Linked DNA regions of Homo sapiens: all the other regions are linked to region 4. Evidence: promoter capture Hi-C in 16 types of primary human blood cells and fetal thymus (Javierre and others, 2016). All regions are on one chromosome and are shown on one strand. Each heading gives the region's core, a stretch centred on a gene start or on the middle of the fragment in contact. The rest is flanking DNA. Distances are from core to core; before and after follow the strand shown. Region 1 overlaps HNRNPA0 (heterogeneous nuclear ribonucleoprotein A0). Region 2 overlaps MATR3 (matrin 3). Region 3 overlaps PAIP2 (poly(A) binding protein interacting protein 2). Region 4 holds the start of KDM3B (lysine demethylase 3B). Region 5 holds the start of SNORA74D (small nucleolar RNA, H/ACA box 74D).

The links. The method cuts DNA at HindIII sites, captures the fragments that hold promoters and counts their contacts. A CHiCAGO score of 5 or more calls a contact.
Region 1: a contact is called between a fragment that was not itself captured here and the fragment with the promoter of KDM3B in region 4, in 1 of 17 cell types (neutrophils). The highest score is 5.5, in neutrophils.
Region 2: a contact is called between a fragment that was not itself captured here and the fragment with the promoter of KDM3B in region 4, in 1 of 17 cell types (monocytes). The highest score is 5.3, in monocytes.
Region 3: a fragment that was not itself captured here is called in contact with the fragment with the promoter of KDM3B in region 4 in 2 of 17 cell types (monocytes and naive CD4 T cells); the score reaches 7.0 in monocytes.
Region 5: a fragment that was not itself captured here is called in contact with the fragment with the promoter of KDM3B in region 4 in 4 of 17 cell types (naive CD8 T cells, fetal thymus, total CD8 T cells and 1 more); the score reaches 7.1 in naive CD8 T cells.

The regions. Positions count from the first base shown.
Region 1 is chr5:137,748,359-137,751,058 of GRCh38, reverse strand. HNRNPA0 (heterogeneous nuclear ribonucleoprotein A0) reads left to right here. Exons shown (of 1, transcript NM_006805.4): 1 at 1-2,700. Among named protein-coding and RNA genes, the nearest start is that of HNRNPA0, 4.7 kb to the left of the region's middle. The HindIII fragment of the contact is 3,508 bases long and covers 1-2,700 here.
Region 2 is chr5:139,324,297-139,326,996 of GRCh38, reverse strand. It overlaps MATR3 (matrin 3), which reads right to left. Exons shown (of 15, transcript NM_018834.6): 13 at 1,335-1,557; 14 at 713-834. Among named protein-coding and RNA genes, the nearest start is that of PAIP2, 16 kb to the left of the region's middle. The HindIII fragment of the contact is 5,429 bases long and covers 1-2,700 here.
Region 3 is chr5:139,345,276-139,347,975 of GRCh38, reverse strand. The region is part of intron 1 of PAIP2 (poly(A) binding protein interacting protein 2); the gene reads right to left. Among named protein-coding and RNA genes, the nearest start is that of PAIP2, 4.8 kb to the right of the region's middle. The HindIII fragment of the contact is 8,536 bases long and covers 1-2,700 here.
Region 4 is chr5:138,351,430-138,354,129 of GRCh38, reverse strand. KDM3B (lysine demethylase 3B) reads right to left here and starts at 1,445. Exons shown (of 24, transcript NM_016604.4): 1 at 1,143-1,445. The coding sequence starts at 1,334. RefSeq lists an enhancer at 506-605 and silencers at 856-1,325, 1,406-1,645, 1,666-1,745. The HindIII fragment of the contact is 3,421 bases long and covers 1-2,700 here.
Region 5 is chr5:139,275,633-139,278,332 of GRCh38, reverse strand. SNHG4 (small nucleolar RNA host gene 4) reads right to left here. Exons shown (of 7, transcript NR_182757.1): 3 at 2,183-2,212; 4 at 1-6. It overlaps SNORA74D (small nucleolar RNA, H/ACA box 74D), which reads right to left and starts at 2,153; the gene lies at 2,010-2,153. The region is part of intron 3 of LOC124901081 (a long non-coding RNA gene); the gene reads left to right. It also overlaps a transcript of MATR3 not described here. The HindIII fragment of the contact is 902 bases long and covers 912-1,813 here.

The sequences.
Region 1 (2,700 bases), core at 134-2,633, 600 kb after region 4:
GGGCTACTTCATTTGGTAATTTGGTCCAGCTTTTTGGTGGCTGTAGAGTGGCCTCTAGGATACAGAAAATGATTCTCTGAAATTTTTCGTTGTAATTGTTAAATACTACTCTGCTTGACTTACTCAGTTTTGGTGGGAAGATCTGGGTCAATTGGAATAGTACACCTTTCTCAGGGTTTTCAGTTTAATAAGGTTGTCATATTATTCCCAACATGGGAATATAGTGGCTTCTAAAGTTTGCAAATGAATTATGTAAAAGGATTTTCTGTGTATTAGGAAGGCAACCTGTTCTGTTCATGGTATATTAACACTTCATTGTCATGTGTCTACCCTTAAAATTGCTATTTGTAGTGAAGAAAAAAGCATAGTGGTATTTAGTCACTTCTGGGTTCCTCTTGTCAGTTTATATGCAAACATTTTGGCATGTGGGACTTGGGGAGGAGGGACAATTGGTTGTATGTTTTGACCACTTCCACCTATGAAAATTATCTGAACATTATTCAGATTTAAGAGTTCATGGGAGCAGGTGGTACAGAACCTAGTGTTGAATATAATTTTTGTGCCATGCTTGAATGTATTTTGACGGATTAGCAAAATAAAAGTGAACCTCCTATTTTTCATCTTAATGTGAAGATCTTTGGCATTTACATTCTTTTAAAAGTATAAATTCAGTAGTCATTAGTTGAAAGTGGTTTGAAAGGCTGTTAGAGATGATACAGGTTGAGTATTCCTTATCTGAAATTCTTGGGCCCAGAAGTGTTTTGAGTTTTAGATTTTTTTCAATTTTTGAATATTTCCATTATGTTTACCAGCTGAGCAGCTCTCATACAAAAATGTAAAATCCAAACTGCTTCAATGAGCATTTCCTTTGAATGTCATGTCTGCACTCAAAAAATTTCGGATTTTGGAGCATTTTAGATTTTTTGATTGGAATATCTGTAGTGTTTTTCAGGTCATTTAAAAAGCTCTCATTGGTACTGATTTACTGTATCCAAAAAAAAGCCTGCAAGTGGTTAAGGTTCACAGTGATAACTATCAAATCAGAATGACTATACTGATTGTACCCATTCATCCATTTTTAACTTAGTGATTTGGAACGTTTCATATTCAAATCTAATTTTCATAATTTTTAAGTAAACCTAAAAGATTGAGGATACTTGAGAAATTTGCATTTATGATTTCCTTCAAAACCAGAAGTGATGGTATCAGTTATTGGATTTGTAAACTTAGTTTACCTTTTAAGTGTGCTTAAGTTTTGAGAGTTTGCATTTTAGGTTAAATTTTGTCTGCCCGCGTCTGCTGATTGCAGATAGGCATTTGGATGTTGGATTTGGAGCAGAACTGCATCTAGACTACACGGATTTTACCCAAAAAGACAGCACTTGCACTTAGGCTAAGTGTCTTTCTCCATCGTAACCAATTTATTGAATCACTTTAAGAGTGATCATTGGGGAAATTTTCCTCCTCAGCCTTATTTTGGCCTTTTGAAACAGCAACAAAGACTGCCTAGTCAAATAACTCCTTAGCTGTCCTGCTTTTGAGTGAACTTCATATTTGCCTTGAATGAGAATTTAAATGTTACAAGGTAAAACATTTATTATAAAAAGATATTTGAAAGCTGCTATTTAAAAAGGAATTCCAAAGTAGGAAGACTAGAAGGGCAATTCTCTATTTTCCACCTATTTTTTTTACTTTGATTTGAAGCCAGATGATTTGAACCTTCAGAGAGGGAAAGGATTCAGGAAGACACCTTTGGTAGTTATTCTTAACTGTTTCCTTCTCTATTCAGGCAGGCTTTCTTTGTCTCTTTAATTCTTTTACCACTTTGTATGGTTTACTTAAAAAATCTATCTGAAATAGCTATCATTTCCTGCTATAAAGTTCTCAAGTGTAAACTTTTGCCATTTAAACAGTGTGCTTATTTCCCAGTGTTTACCGTCAATTTCATTGGGTGTTAGGCACCTTTGTGTAAGACAGTTCTATAATGTGGAGGTACACAGCAGTGAGACAAACATGGTTGCTGTCTTCATATACCTTGCGTTCTGGTTGGAATTCAATTTATTTTGAAATGGGAATTCAATTTATTTTGAGATGATGCATCTTTTCCTTTACAGCATTGTGTCACAATCTCATATTGTTCACACCATCAAAATTGGAGTTAGCTCCATTGTCATTGAATGTACATTCTCTGATGAAAATTAAGACTCTTTTCTCCTTAATTGATTACTTTTTAGAAATCAAAGGTGTATTTTGTCTTTGATGCTTACGTTGCAAATGTAATTTGCTTCATAGTGGGTATCTGATTTAATATTTCATAGCCCTTAAGGACGTAAATTTGGGCATCCAATAGACCAAATTCTGTTCCTGACACAGTCACTTTCTAGCACTGCGACCTTGGACAAACTGGCCCGAGCCTCACTTGCCTTATTTGTAAAAAAATAGGCTATGGTAATACCTGCTACATAGGATTGTTGGGCAGATTCAGTGAAAGAATGCATATAAAGAAGGGCTTACTGTAGTCTCTGGTACACAGTAATTTTACTATATGGCCCCTAATGAAGAGGTGGGACAGACTAGCAAAAGGCATACTTTTATATCTTAGTACCCGAGATATGCATGGTCTTTAGGCTTTGCTCTTTACTTGCTGGGTGAGCTTCCATGTGGTAGTTCTCTAAATCACTGCTGCTTCAACTCTAGTAG
Region 2 (2,700 bases), core at 77-2,576, 970 kb before region 4:
GGTCATAAAAATAACTGAAGTGTCAATAATAATGTCAATATTAAAAATTATTTTAATATGAATGGTCATGCCACTTTTAGTATTCAGACTCCCAGCATCTTTCAAATTAGAGAAAGTACAGCCCAACAACAATCTGAGAATACTTGAATAAGTTTAATTCTACCACAGAATTTATAATATGGTTAGAAAACACTAAATTGTTATGTAGCAAGGGTAAACTATGACAAGAGGTTCAACAGATGTTTTGATAACCCATCAATAAAGAAAGAAAAGGCCAGGCGCGGTGGCTCATGCCTGTAATCCCAGCACTTTGGGAGGCTGAGGTGGGTGGATCACCTGAGGTCAGGAGTTCAAGACCAGCCAGGCTAGCCAACATGGTGAAACCCCATTTCTACTAAAAATACAAAAATTAGCTGGGTGTGGTGGTGCATGCCTGTAATCTCAGCTACTTGGGAGGCTGAGGCAGGAAAATTGCTTGAACCCAGGAGGTAGAGGTTGCAGTGAGCCAAGATTGCACCATTGCAATCCAACCTGGGCAACAAGAGAGAAACTGTCTTTAAAAAAAAAAAAAAAAGTAAATAAAAAGTTATCTTCAGGAGAAAGCACTGCACTGAGTCTAGAGAGAACACTATACACATTTTACTTATATACCCCACTTATTTCCATAACTTGTTAAGTTTTCACAAAAGAACTGTTTTACATTCAACCTTACCTTTAATTTCTGATAATGAGGAAGGCTGCTGCAATGAGTATTCTTTGCAACTTCTTCATTTGTATAAAAGAGTGAACACAGCTTACAGTAAAACCCTGTTTTAGGTATCACATAGTCTATACCTAGAAATACAAACATACATTCTTACAAATTAAACTGAAGATTTTATTTAGTATTCACAATTTCACCTGTCAACATAATTTAAATGAAACAACATGTTTTTGAGAAGTCCAATACAGCCTAAGATAAAAAACAAAAACCGAACCATATTTTGCTTTTACCTAATTGATGTTTGAGGTCTCACCTAACTGTATTCTTAAAAAAAGAAATATAATACAGAAAAACAACACAGAAAAGCAAAACAAAAGCGTGTAACTTGCAAGAAATTTTACGAAAAAAGGGAACACATTGTGGAATAACAACAGAAAATAATACAAAATCAGAGACATGCATGAGAGGAAAATATATCAATTAAGATTTATAAATTGTTCCCCATAGAAACAAAGCAAATTTAAAATGCTATCACAGCTTATGTAAGACCAACTTTAAAATCTTATTTTAAAACCTAAGAGTTTGTTTTGAGGAGAGTGAGGAAGGTGAAGAACAAAGACTTAAATCTCACCAACAGGAACATTGGGCTGATATGGTCCAATTCTATACTCATCTGGGATTGTATAGTCGTCCTTGTTCTCATCACTTTGACCATCTGCGTTTTCACTTGTATCTTTGTTGGGATCATCAGCGTTCTCAGAAGATTCAGCACCTGGTTCTGTGTTTTCCTCATTTTTAATTCCATTTTCCAACGCTGCTTCGTTTTCTTGATCAAGTTCCTCGATCTTGTCCACCTTAATTTCAACCAAACCATCATCATTTTTGTCACCAGATTTAAATGCCATGCCCGATTTACGAAGTTTCTGAAGTTCCGAATCTTCCTCATCACCAACCTCATCTAGAGTGACAAAACCTTCCATACTCCCTGGAAAACGACGCTGTTAAGAAAGACAAATTTACTCTGCAACAATTATCCTGCAGCATCCCTTCTGTCTGCTTTACTTGAAGGGAAACGGATAGCGTCTTTGCCTTTTTTTTTTTGAGACGGAGTCTTGCTCTGTCGACCAGGCTGGGGTGCAGTGGCGCGATCTCGGCTCACTGCAACCTCCGCCTCCCTGGTTCACGCCATTCTCCTGCCTCAGCCTCCCGAGTAGCTGGGACTACAGGCGCACGCCACCACGCCCGGCTAATTTTTTTTGTAATTTTAGTAGAGACGGGGTTTCACTGTGTTAGCCAGGATGGTCTCGATCTCCTGACCTCGTGATCCACCCACCTCGGCCTCCCAAAGTGCTAGGATTACAGGCGTGAGCCACCGTGCCCGGCCGCGTCTTTGTCTTTATTCATTGGCTCAAAATAGTAACTTCTTCCTTTCTTCCAAAAAATTACTGATAATTTGAAAAATAATTTAGCTTATTTTAAAACTAAAAAATGGAAGGTCTGCCTCACACAAAGAGCAGAAGTTAAATGAGATAGGAATATTCATATTTTATCTTTTCTGAGACTACAATGCTGCTAGGCAATGTGTAAAAAACTTGATTTGGTAAAAGTTGAGCAATATCCTTTGTAAGACAGTATACTGCAAATACCTACTCTTTAGAGCAAATACTCAAACAGTGTAATGGCTAAAAAACCAAGCTCTGGGCCAGGCATGGTGGCTCACACCTGTAATTCCAGCACTTTGGGAGGCTGAGGTGGGCGGATCACCCTGAGATCTCAGGAGTTCAATACCAGCCAGGCCAACATGGCGAAACCTCGTTTCTACTAAAAATACAAGAATTAGCCTCGTGTGGTGGTGGACACCTGTAATCCCAGCTACTTGGGAGGCTGAGGCAGCAGAACTTGAACCTGGGAGGTGGAGGTTGCAGTTAGCTGAGATCACACCACCGCACTCCAGCCTGGGCAACAGAGCAAGACTCCGTCTCCAAAAAAAAAAAAAA
Region 3 (2,700 bases), core at 99-2,598, 990 kb before region 4:
CGTCTAGAACTCCTGAACTCAGGTGATCCGCCCACCTCGGCCTCCCGAAGTGCTGGGATTACAGATATGAGCCACCACACTGGCCGAGTTGTTTCTTATATTCATCATCTTCCCCTAACTTCCTATCTTTGTAAAATAGTTCAAAAGGCTACCTGAGGATTTATCATTCTAAGCCAGTGTCCAAAACATCTTTTTTTTTTTTATGGATGTACCACAGTTTTTTAAAAATTATTATTATACTTTAAGTTTTAGGGTACATGTGCACAATGTGCAGGTTAGTTACATATGTATACATGTGCCATGCTGGTGTGCTGCACCCATTAACTCGTCATTTAGCATTAGGTGTATCTCCTAATGCTACAAAACATCTTTTGCCTTCATGTTTGAATAAAAATGTTGTATGGCCTGGCGTGGTGGCTCAGGCCTGTAATCCCACCACTTTGGGAGGCCAAGGTGGGTGGATCATTTGAGGTCAGGAGTTCTAGAAAAGCCCGGCCAATATGGTGAAACCTTGCCTCTACCAAAAATACAAAAATTAGCCGGGCATGGTGGTGGGCGCCTGTAGTGTCAGCTACTCAGGAGGCTGAGGCAGGAGAATCGCTTGAACTCGGGAGGTGGAGGTAGCAGTGAGCCAAGATCGCGCCACTGCACTCCAGCCTGGGCGACAGAGCGGAACTGTGTCTTAAAAAAAAAAAAAAAAAAAAAAAGTTGTAACATGAGTATTTCCATGTAAATGTGCTAAAAAAAAAATTAGTTGTAACAGAATTCTGAGATGTCTGTGCTTCCTGTTGATAATCTATTGTCAATAATTCCAACTTTCAATGTTGTAGAAAATCAATTTTCTTTCCTTTTAAAAATCCTGTTCTAGGCTGGGTGCAGTGGCTCACACCTATAATCCTAGCACTTTAGGAGGCCAAGGGAGGTGGATCACTTGAGGTGAGGAGTTTGAGACCGGCCCTGGCCAACATGGTGAAACCCCATCTCTAGTAATACAAAAACTAAGCCAGGCATGGTGGCGCACAGCTGTAGTCCCAGCTACTCGGGAGCCTGAGGCAGGAGCACTGCTTGAACCTGGGAGGCAGAGGTTGCAGTGAGCTGAGATGGTGCATTCCAGCCTGAGCAACAGACTGAGACTGCATCTCAAAAAATAAAAATAAGCTGGGCGCAGCAGCTCACGCCCAGCACTTTGGGAGGCCAAAGGGGGTGGATCACGAGGTCAAGAGATTGAGGCCATCCTGGCCAACTTGGGCGAAACCCCGTCTCTAAAAATGCAAAAATTAGCTGGACATGGAGGTGCACGCTTGTAGTCCCAGCTACTCGGGAGGCTGAGGCAGGAGAATTGCTTGAACCTGGGAGGCAGAGGTTGCAGTGAGCTGAGATGGTGCCACTGCATTCCAACCTGAGCATCAGAGGGAGACTGCATCTCAAAAAATAAAAATAGGCCAGGTGCGGTGGCTCACGCCTGTAATCCCAACACTTTGGGAGGCCAAGGGGGTGGATCATGAGGTCAAGAGATTGAGACCATCCTGGCCAACATGGTGAAACCCCGTCTCTAAAAATACAAACATTAGCTGGGCGTGGTGGCACATGCTTGTAGTCCCAGCTACTGGGGAGGCTGAGGCAGGAGAATCACTGGAACCTGGGAGGCGGAGGTTGCAGTGAGCCAAGATTGCGCCACTGCACTCCGGCCTGGTGACAGAGCAAATCTCCGTCTCAAAAAAATAAATAAAAATTTAAAAATCCTGTTCTAGACGACAGCTTAAGATGTTTTAACAAATTCATATATTTCACCAGATTTTGGATAGGTAAGAGCAATTTTTTCCCAGTACTACTGCCTGGAAGTCAGCAAACCCTTTCAATTTATCAACTTAGGGCTTTATTGTGTCTTCAGCTGTTTTTCCCCTCCTGAAATGCCTCTTAGACATATTGGTTTCCAGCAGTGTCCTTTTATATTGTCTATGGAATTTTAAAATACAGAAATCTTTTAGGTTTTACAATCTTTCTCCACTAGTTTCATCTTTTAAGAATTCTCATTAAAATTCAAATATAGGCCTGGTGCGGTGGCTCACGCCTGTAATCCCAGCACTTTGGGAGGCCGAGGTGGGCGGATCACAAGGTCAGGAGATTGAGACCATCCTGGCTAACACGGTGAAACCCCATCTCTCCTAAAAATACAAAAAATTAGCCAGGCATGGTGGCAAGCGTCTGTAGTCCCAGCTACTCAGGAGGCTGAGGCAAGAGAATGGCATGAACCCGGGAGGTGGAGCTTGCAGTGAAATGAGATCATGCCACTGCACTCAGGCCTGGGCAACAGAGCAAGACTCCGTTTCAAAAAAAAAAAAAAAAAAATTCAAGCATAGTTCTCTTCTGTTTCTTTCATTAATCTACCTCCATAGGCACCATCTTTTCTCATTCCCTTGGACTCTGTTTTGAACCACTGTGATCCTTACCTTATTTGCATATTTTTTAATCGTATTTTACGCATATATACGTTTAAGCATACTTCCTTTGGCAGTTAAAGAGGATCGCAACATTTTTCAATTGGTCTGTTTTCCACTCTGAAGTCTGTGAAAAGCACCGAATTTTTTGTTTTACTATTTGGCACAGTAAGGTAACGATTAAAAAACATGGGCTCTGGGCTGGGCGCGGTGGCTCACACCTGTAATCCCAGCACTTTGGGAGGCCAAGGCCGTTGGATCA
Region 4 (2,700 bases), core at 196-2,695:
CCGTTGATCAATAGGAAGAAAAATGAACATCGGAAGCCTACAACATTACTTCCAAATCTCACAAACTGCGTTCCCGTTTATATCTGCAAAAGCAAGTTCATCAAGAAAATTTACTTTCTGCTTGCTGATCTATTACATTCCAAAAGACCACCCCCTGCCCCAACACGCACACACACCATTTTTCATAGCCTTATCTCACCAGAGAAGCTAGGGCCCCTATCAAAATGAGGAAATAAAGTGGCTTGCCAAAACTCAAACACTATATTTTACCGCCACATTAACGAGAATAACACATCATGATCCCGAATGCTAGTTAAGTTGTATGACTGAACAACTTTAATCACAAAACACACCAAGGCATTCAAAAAGGGCCAAGCCCAAACACAAAGTTTCAAAACAAAACCTCTCCCAAGGTTGGGGGAGTAGCTGAGCTGGGAGCAAAAAGCACTACCCAGCAGCCCCGTTCGGCCACTAAGAAAGATCTCAAACTTAACAAAAACAGCCACAACTGCAGCTCCTGTCACCCAGAAGCGTTAAGGAAAGGAGAGGAGAGCTCGAGACAGTGCCGAGAGCTGGCCTTTCTGGAGACCGCCAGGCCGAGCCCAGCTCAGATGAGGAAGTAACTGCCAGATAAAAAAGCCCCGACCAGCTCCAACTGCAGCCTCCGTGCCTCCCATAACTGCCCACATTCCCGCCCCACTTGGGGCTCTGGGAGAAAAGGAACAGGGCGCAGGTCTCCTGGGAGAGGCTGGGGACCACAGGTCCGCGTCTTCGAGAGGGCAGCGGCAACACTGGCCGAACTCTGAGGCTCCCGGGAGCTCAAGATTCGAGAGCCTGCTCCGAAGGCGTGTTGGGGGGAACGCCGAGAAAAGGGTCGCCCAGGAGGCGGGGCCTGCTGGCTGCAAGCAGCAGCTCCGGACGCCCTGGCCGCCCCCCGGGGGAAACCGGGGCGCACACCCCGACGCGGAAGCCATGCCGGCAAGCGCTCGGGGTGCGGAGGTGCCGGCGGGGGGCGCTAAGGAGACCCGGGGGCACGGAAATGGGTCACCCCCATCCCACCGCCCCCTCACAAAGGCCCCCGGGGAGGCCGCCCGCAGGCCCCGCAGCCCCGGCCTCGAGTGCCCGACTCGGCCGCCACTCACCGCTAGGTCCTGGGGCACCGCCCCGCTCATGGCCCGCACCGTGCCGGCCCGCCAGGCTCGAGTGCGCAGCGCAGGCCCCGGATCTCCGCTCGCCGCTGCCGCCGCGGGAGCCGAGGCCGAGGCTGAGGCCGCAGTGTCCGCGAACAGCAGCAGCAGCCGCTTGCCCACCGGGGAGGCCGCCGCGTCCGCCATCGCCGGGGCCGGCCTGACCCGCGCTCCCGCCCGCCGCCTCCCACCACCTCCGCCGCCAAGCGCCCGATCCGCCCGCAAGGCCTCCCTCCGCACCACCCGCGGCCGCCGTTCCCCCCCACCCCCCCCAACAGCCACCACCAACCACCGGCGCAGCGCAGCGCCCCCCGTGGCCGGGAGCGGAGCCGCAGCCTGGGCCCCGCACAGCGCCCCCCGCGCTCTGGAGCGGGGCGACAGCTCCTGGCCCCTCGCAGCGCTCCGCCCCAATCTCCCCGGGGCCTGCAGTGCCCCCTGCGGTCTGGAGGGGAATTGCAGGTCCGGCCGGGGTAGGGAAGTGGGCGGGTCCTTCAGCTTCCCCATGGCATCATCCCTGGTCTCAATCTTCCTTCAGGGAGTCGTATATATGAGAGGGCTTTAGCTTGCTCTCCTCGGATACCAAAGACATTTACGGGGTAAGGGGGTGAGGGGCAAGGTACCTAGAGAGTGGATGTTTTGAGCTATTTAGTGTCTCCAATACCCCCATTGATTTCCTATCCTGAAAATATGAGCTCCTACCTGCTGTCTTGTAGGAAATGTTCTCCCCATTGGTCCATGAGACACAATGTCTTCCTTCTCAATGGCCCATAACAGCACCATCCCATTCTATACTGCCAGCACTTCTTAGGTTCCTTTCCAATTGGCCAATGTATTACTTCCATTGGATGTATAATGCCACTCTTTCCACTGACTGAAGGCCAACGTGCCCCCCAACATCTTGGTGTTTTTCCTAAAACCGACCTAACTTCTTCCCCTTCCTAGTCTGCCAATGTTATTAAGTCTACGTGTTTCTCCATTCAACTCTTAGGGGAACTGGAAATAGACCAACAGTAAAGGGGTTCTCTTAGTAGCACTCCATCTTACCATGGAATTAGTGGGGCTGGGGGCAAAGAAAATTCTGTAACTCTTATCTGAATGCATTTAATACAGGTGTGGGAGACTGATAGCTCCTGATTAGAAAAGGAGCCTGCAGAGAAAGTGAGATGCTGAGATTTTTGGCTAGATTGTTACCCACAATAAGCAACAGGAAATTGCCTCAATCATTTAAAGCTGGCAATATCAGGGACTAGCACATTCCATGGTCTCATGGATGCAGAGACTGAGTATACACAAAATGGATACAAAAGATAAAGGGTATAGTAATAACCCATGACTGTTGTTCTAAAAGTGACTTTTTGATTTTCCCTACAGACAGGAAATAGTGGTAGCTGGTTCTTTCTCCAAGGCTTCTGTGCCTACCCCAGCTATCTCCTGTCCATAACCTTGTCTACACCCTTGACCTACTTTTCTTGTAACAAAGGCTTGGGGAGAGGGGTAACCAACTATTGACTTT
Region 5 (2,700 bases), core at 113-2,612, 920 kb before region 4:
GTCATCCTAAAAAGGAAGACAAGCAAACTTAGTGATCTAGTACACAGAATATAATAAATAGCAATGCATTGTGTGTGTGTGTGTATATATATATATATATTTTTTGAGATAGGGTCTCACTCTGTCTAGACTGAGTGCAGTGGCATGACCATGGTTCACTGTAGTCTCAATCTCCTGGGTCAAGTGATCCTCCCAGCTTAGCCTCCCAAGCAGCTGGGACTACAGGTGCATGCCAACACACCCACCTAATTTCTTTTTTGTTTTTTATAGAGATGAGATCTCTTTCTGTTGCCCAGGCTTGTCTCAAACTCCTGGGTTCAAATGATCCTCCCACCTCAGCCTCCCAAAGTGCTGGGAATACAGGTGCGAGCCACCGTGCCTGGCCTGTATATTTCAAAATTGCTAAAAGATACTAAATGTTTTCACCACAACAAAATATAAGTATGTGAGGTGCTAGATGTGTTAACTAGCATGATTTACTCATTCCACAATGTAAACATGTATGAAAACCTCATGTTGTACCCCATATAACATATACAATTACTGTCAATTAAAAAAAAAAAAAAAAAAAGACGAGCAGACATGATATATTTCCCATGAATTTGAATGTTTGGCACCCTGGTCTAAAATAGCAGCTCCTAAGGACCCTTATCTGGAGAGATGGAAATAGAATGCTGCTTGCCATTTACCCCAATTTCTATAGCCTCAGGAATTATTTTATTTACCATTATTTGCCTTTTCCCTGCCTATAGTACTATAAAGCTAACCATCCCCCAAGCCCTACAGATATCACTAGCCTTAAGACCCCATATGTAAAAGGCTATTCACAGTTGAGGCATTCACACAAAGCACTCACATTTAGTTGAGAGAATCCTATTAAGGGAATGCCAACTGATCTAACAAAACAAGCTTTGATAAACAACTCCCCTGCCCCCCAACATCCTCCCCATTTCCTCCTGTGGAAACTAGTATGTCACTTTTCACAGCAACCGAGGGTCATCTCTTCTCAAAAGATTAGCATTCCAGGCCAGGCACGGTGCAGTGGCTCATGCCTGTAACCCCAGCACTTTGAGAGGCAGGAGATCACTTGAGCCCAGGAGTTCGAGACCAGCCTGGACAACGTCGTGAAACCTTGTCTCTACTAAAGCCTGGGCAACATAATGAGACTTTGTCTCTACAAATTAAAAAAAAAAAAATTATCTGGTTGTGGTGGCACACACCTATCATCCCAACTACTTGGGAAAAAGCATTCCAAAACAAAATTACTACAAAGGGAACTCAATATCTACCACTTTAATGGGGCAACAACTGTTCATTTCTGAAAATCAGTAAGCAACTAAAGCAAATATACTGTCAGCCCAAAGGAGAAATTAGTGTGGTTGTAGTTGTTCAGTTCCCAGAGCCCCCTCAATCAATATTTTAATATTTTATTAAACAGCTAGAGAATGCCCATAATTTTAAAGTGAATTACCATCAATGTTTCCCTAATAGGGAATCCATCCCTCTACAAAGGGTGTCATGACTAGCTTTTATGGTGGGTAGTAGGAGCCATGGACTTTAATTTCAGTGAAATTAGCAAAAATCCCATTGTATCTGGCCCCCTTTGAGCCCTTGGTAGGCACTAAAAATAAAGGTGTGACTTTTCCGTCTATTTTTACCAACCCCCTCTTCCCATTAGCTTTGTTCTGTTTCCAAGGTATGATTCAAGTAACTTCATGCTACCCAAACCTGTTGGACCAGAACTATTCAGGAAGGTCTGGACTTATTCTCTGCAAAAAGTCATGCTCTCACAGATTAAACCTTAATGCAAGCTTTTCCAACCCGCAGCCCAACACAAATTGGTAAACTTTCTTAACACATTATGAGGAGTTATTTTTGGCAATTTTTTTTTAAATTTAGCTATCAGTTATCGTTAGTGTTACTATATTTTATGTATGGCCCAAGACAATTCTTATCCTTCCAATGTGGCCCAGGGAAGCCAAAAAACACGCCTGCCTTAATGGATAAGCAACTATGCTGGCATCCTGGGGTAGTCAACACAAGAGTTGGCATGAACCAGGGCCAGAATGCCAACCAGCTATTGGCTGCTGTTCTCCCAGCAGTGTAACACTTGCCTAGGTACAAGACAACCTAGGCAGCTGCCTACAGCTGGAGCCAAGAGAGCTGAAGGGGTTGCACTCACCTGCAGTTGCATCTGCCACAGCCAGCCTCTCTGCAATGAAACAACTCCAGGTTAGTCAGCCAACAGTGAACACGTGTGCAGCTCAGAGTCCCTCCCCTCAAAACACGGTAACTTAGGCCTAAGCCACAGAAACAATAGCAGACAATAAAACCAATAGCTTATCCTTGTTTAGCTTTGTTTTCATCTCTTGTTACTTATACACCACAGCAGTTCAATAGTAGCAAAAGAGTCGATTAAACAAATATCAGGGAGCCTGGCTCTATCCCCTAACCAGTGTCTAGCCAAATGATACTGGGCGAGAAACCTCTCTATACCTCAGTCTCATTTGTAGAATGGAGGTATTATATTACAGGGTCTTTCTCTGCCACCCAGGCTGGAGTGCAGTGGCACAATCATGGCTCACTGCAGCCTCCACTTCCTGGGCTCAAGTGATTCTCCTACCTCAGCCTCCTGAGTAGCTGGGACTACAGGCGTGAGCGAGCACACCAAGCTGAATGGGGATATTACTAATAGTCCTC